2 separate regions of the Homo sapiens genome follow, and region 1 is linked to region 2. Evidence: promoter capture Hi-C in human tissues and cell types (Jung and others, 2019). All regions are on one chromosome and are shown on one strand. The core of a region is centred on a gene start or on the middle of the fragment in contact, and the rest is flanking DNA. Distances in the headings are between cores, read along the strand shown. Region 1 overlaps CXXC4-AS1 (CXXC4 antisense RNA 1). Region 2 holds the start of CXXC4 (CXXC finger protein 4).

Region 1 (2,700 bases), core at 163-2,662, 49 kb before region 2:
ATAATCTGAAATATCAAGTTTTCATAGGGCAAAAATATGACTTAAGAATTCCGTGCCAAGCCAAGAGTTAACTATTTGTGAGAAGAAAAACAGAAATACATTCTCTGGTGTGTGTTTGGAAAAAACACTCTCTTACCTTTATTGAAAAGAGAAGGAAGTTACATTGGTTATGACAATAAATGTGAATTAAACTCTACTGTTAAAAAAGTAAAATTTTTATTTTGAGTTAAAAATAAATACATATGGAAGCAAGTTAAATGTCAGTAAGGAAGGCAGAATGCTTAAACCATCACAAATTTATAAAATGTTATTCAGCTATAAAAATCACATTTTCAAGAAATATTTAATAATGTTGGAAATTTTATAAAATAATATTTAGTGAAAAAAGTAGAAAACAAAACTAAATATGAGTATCATTTCCTTTCTGTTAAGCACTGTTAGGCATAAAAAGGCAGAGAAAATAATCAGTATGTGACAGTAGTAATTGATAGGTGGCATGATTATACATAATTTTAAGTTTTGTGTTGATTTCAAGATAATATTTAATTTCTAATATTCTATAATGGCCATATTTTACTTTTATAATCAGAAAAATGAATGAAAGAAAGGGACATAAAAGAGCCATTGACAAATCCTGAGACAAATAAGTAAATACGAAGAGAAGTCCTGCAAGAGACTGAGGAAAACAAAAAAAAACAAAAAAACGCAGTGCTGTAGAAGGAATTACCAAGAAAGGAGACATTTTGAAGAGGAAGAAAACAGCCAACCATCTAAAATACTACTGAAATCGAACAAGATGGGGATGAATAGAACCCATTAGAAAAGTCTAATTGAAAGGCTCATGGGTGGACTTTTCAACAGCAGTTCCAGGCCTTGGCCAGAGTTACTTATTTGTCAGAACTTTGGCTGCTGCAACTTATAGAGTGAATGGAGGAAGAAATCATAGTAGATTATTTTGAGGAACTTAACTTTGAAAAGAAGAAAAATTAGGGTTTGTCTAGAAGGTAATATAAAAAAAAAGGTTTTTGTTGTTGTTGTCCTTTGTTTGTTTGTTTTAAGGTATGAAAAATTAGGCAAGAATTGAATGTTACTATAGTGGTAAAAAGCAAAGGATTTGGAGTCAGATGAATCAGCATTTAATTATACGGTAGTGCCATTCTATCCAAGATTACAAACTTTTGTTAATCTGTTAATCTAAAATATAGATTTAAAGGGAATCATAAAATATAACATATTTTTAAAGGTTATTTTAACTGAAAGAATATAAAGGCACATTTCTTCATCAAATTCTCATAGGCAAGGCCTTTTACTTAGTTACTTGCTCTCCTTTTTGAATAAATTACAATCACAATACATCAGTTACAATTTTCAATAGTGAATTCTGTAAAAGTGGAGTTAAAATTTAAAGCCCTTAGAAGAAAAAAACATTTCTTAAATTTTTAGATTTTTTTCTGCACCTAATTCAACTTCGATTTATGATTTAACTTTATCAAGACATTTCCGAGCATTCAGTTTAATTTTCCTAGAAACAAATTTGTTTTCTTTTTTCTTTCATGCATACTTAATAATTTATAGAATATTTATTTAAATTTAAAATGACAACAAGTGAAGTGAATGAAACAACTTTGAGGGCAAATCCAACTGCTTCTTGGTAAACCTATAATTTAACCAGTGAGCACAGGCTATAGACTGAAGACTACAGAAGGGTGACTAGCCAGCTGACAATACTGGGTGACAGCATTATTTAATGTGTTTTAGAGGAATGGAATCTTGATTACCAGTGGGTTGAGTAAGTGGAGGTGGGTTGACATTCTACTGTGAAAGTCATATTTTTACTGAAGTGAACAAACAATTGATCAAATTCCTAATTCTAAAAAGAAACTATACATTGCAATGTATATGACAAAGAAGAAATATTTCTTATCAAAGATCCAACAGTTAAAAGAACATCATTATAACAGACTGTAAATTATATACCTTAGTGATATACAGTGTCAGACATTTCAAAGTGTCAAGTGATTTTAAAAAACTGGAACCACATTAACCAGATATTGAAATATTATTTATAAAAATATGTAAATTTATATAAATAAATATCTATTTAACAACAAATGGAATTTTGAATCCTTTCTTTGGCTGGAGGTTGAAGAGGTATAATTTCAGCAGTAATCTTTAAAGAGAACAATTGAGTGCATATATGTTTAGGATAGTTAGCTCTTCATGTTGCGTTGATCCCTTTACCATTATGTAATGCCCTTCTTGGTCTTTTTTTATCTTAGTTGGTTTAAAGTCTGTTTTATCAGAGACTAGGATTGCAACCCCTGCTTTTTTTTGCTTTCCATTTTCTTGGTAAATATTCCTCCATCCCTTTATTTTGAGCCTATGTGTGTCTTTGCAAGTGAGATGGGTCTCCAGAATACAGCACACCGATGGGTCTTGACTCCTTATCCAATTTGCCAGTCTGTGTCTTTTTAATAGGGTATTTAGCCCATTTACATTTAAGATTAATATAATTATGTGTGAATTGGATCCTGTCCTTATGATGCTAGCTGGTTATTTTGCCCATTAGTTGGTGCAGTTTCTTCATAGTGTCAATGGTCTTTACAATTCGGTATGTTTTGGCAGTGGCTAGTACCGGTTTTTCCTTTCCATATTTAGTGCTTACTTCAGGAGCTCTTGTAAGGCAGGCCTGGTGGTGAT
Region 2 (2,700 bases), core at 21-2,520:
ATCTTAAGTTTTTTCTTTCCTACTCTATAACTTACCTTAGCCACTGTTTTGCTCTTAGAAAAAAAATTATTCAAAAGTATTCATAATTCTGTATCTTATAACTATTTCCACTAGAGTATACTTTAATAGTAGGATAGCATGTGTCCACAAATATTTTATTTGAGGCAGCAGTGAAGAGGTTAATTTACAGCTGCATTTATGAACGAGTTTTATTTATATTTGACGTGCCGTACAATATTTATGTTTCAATTCATAAACTATGTTTTCCCAAGTGGCAAGAAGTGAAATGTTAATTACATACTATTCTAAAATAGACTGAAAGACAAAAGTTTTTGTTTAAGTAAAGTTTGAAATTAAAAAATAGGGCAGTGAGTTAAAAATCTGATTTATTCTTTGGAACTACCAGATGGAATAGTAAAAGAGGATTTTGGGAGGAGAGAGAGAAGAGTAGAGAAGAGAGACAGAGATTGAGATGGATTTTGAAATTGGCCAAGCATCATATCACCGATTTTTTACATTCTGGCATAATAGTACTTCGAGGGTCTGAAGAACCACACCGGTCCGTTTTCCCTTACTTTAAAGATCTAAATGGTATTTTTTTTTAAAGTCTTCCTGGGTACACCAGGAAATTTATTTAAAACCATGCCATTGGGTACGAACTAAGAGCATTCTTCAAACAAACATGACCTTTTCTCTGTTTCTTGTATTGCTCTTCTCAACCCAGCCAGAAATCCCAGACAAGTTTATTTACACACACACCCGCACACGCACGCACACACACACCCCACACGCAGAGTGGCGGAAACGCCCTCTTTCCAACCCTTCCAAACAATTATCTCCGAGAGCAAAAGAAAATAATCAACAGCCCTGTGTGCTGGGCTGAGCCGGAGAGCCGGGCGCGAGGAGGGAGGGCGATCCGCAGGCGAGCAGGGAAAACGTGGCTCCTCTGCCGAGGAGAGGATTTGTGAAAAGGAGCGCTGGCCCGCGTGCGCCTCTTGTTCCCCGTGTAATTTGCAGCCAATCATCAGTAGGTGTCCACGTCCCTGCGTCCTCCTCACCTCGGCGCCAATCACCCCCACCCCCGCGCCCCCGCCCCCAGCCTCCACACCTCCTCCCTCGCCTTTCTCTGTGGCTCCCCTCCCCCAGCAACCGCACACTCGCACACACACAAACAGAGAGAGAAGGGGGGAGGGTGAGAGAGAGGGGAAGAGAGAGAGAGAGAGAGAGGGGAGAGAGAGAGGAGAGACTCCCCGGCTCCCTCCCTCCCTCGCACACAGCGACTGGAGACGGACGGAGAGCAACGCGCTGGGAGAGGAGAGACCACCGACAACAGACCCGCGCTCTCACACATACACTCACACTCGACTCTTTCCTCTCCCCCCACCTCCTCCTCCTTCCACCCCCACCACTAACACCATCTCCTCCTCCTTCTCTCTGCAACAAGAAAAAAAAGCCATTTACAGGTATTTTTTTTGATCCGCATATTTATTTACCCCCCCCCCCCCAACAGTTTGTTTACAAGTATTAAAGTTGTAATTGGGAGCTGCCAAGACACATCTGGATTTGTGTTTCTTTGTGTTAGGGGGTGATGTGCAACTAATTAAAGGCAGACTGGCAGCGTCTGCAAATTCTAAGGCTCCCCAAATAAAAAGAGACTGGTAAGTGATTGTTCTTTCTCTTTCTCTGGCTTTTTTTTCTCTTAAATGTTTGCTGTCCGTTGGGATTGTGAAAGTAGATTATTAATGCTGGACTCCAGCAAGAAAAAGCGTCGCTGTATTAATTTATTAATTAGTCTGCACCCGCCCCTCCTCCTGAATGTTAAATATGACCTTTGATCTCTATGTCTCTGGTAGACCAGACATACAGTATTAGGCATGTAAAGTCACATTGTTTAAAGGCAAAACAGGATCATGAAGTATGGATCTCTAATTTAGCTTTGGCATAGAACTATAGTTATTTGTGTGTGTTTTATTTTGTTTTTAAATAAAATCCAAACAATAGCTGTGGCTTAGATACCTTTTTCATGCTCCAGAGATGCATTGATTAAACAATAATGACCTGGATACTGGGCATAATCATTTTCTACAGTTTCTGGTGGTATTAAACCTTGAGGTAGGAAGAGGGATGGTGATGGCAATCAGAAAAGCAAGGAAAGCTTGTGTTTGGAAACACCACTCTAAGACTCTAAAAAAGGGACGTTAAATTATTTATTTATTTGGAACAAGGTCAAAAGACTAAAAGGTTGAAAATTTTCCCTCCACTCAATGTGATGATATCTAATGCATGGTTGACATAACTAGTTTTTACTGAGTAGCAGTTATTATGGTCTTGCAGTTACAATGTGATTCGCAGAAACTGAAGCTATATGCATATTCTTGCTGTGTCTTCCCTCACCCCTTCCAAGCATCAAGAATATTTAGCCAAGAGCATTTTGGGGGCACCTTTTGTATTGCCCTCAGACCTGAGAAGGCAGCAGTTTTCCCTAATGCGAAACCACAGAGGTGGTTCCTGAGTGATTAGGGACTTGCTGTGATTGAAAGATGCCTGCAAGCTTCTAATCCAGCCTGGGGTGAGGTTCCTTATCTTGATTTACTTTGCCTAATAGGGATTTGTTTACATAAACCCCTCTTTTTAGAGCACCTCATCAGTAGGTCTTGAAGTTTTTGCACTTGGAGTTTGGGCATAACTGGTTCATTAACC

The links. Contacts are between HindIII fragments. The study calls those that stand out against the background at their distance.
Region 1: a contact is called between a fragment that was not itself captured here and the fragment with the promoter of CXXC4 in region 2, in 1 of the 25 tissues and cell types used here (neural progenitor cells).

What each region holds. Positions count from the first base shown.
Region 1 is chr4:104,542,919-104,545,618 of GRCh38, reverse strand. The region is part of intron 1 of CXXC4-AS1 (CXXC4 antisense RNA 1); the gene reads right to left. The region is part of intron 1 of LOC124900745 (a long non-coding RNA gene); the gene reads left to right. Among named protein-coding and RNA genes, the nearest start is that of CXXC4, 49 kb to the right of the region's middle. The HindIII fragment of the contact is 7,596 bases long and covers 1-2,700 here.
Region 2 is chr4:104,493,464-104,496,163 of GRCh38, reverse strand. CXXC4 (CXXC finger protein 4) reads left to right here and starts at 1,270. Exons shown (of 3, transcript NM_025212.4): 1 at 1,270-1,463. The region is part of intron 1 of CXXC4-AS1 (CXXC4 antisense RNA 1); the gene reads right to left. The HindIII fragment of the contact is 3,942 bases long and covers 1-2,353 here.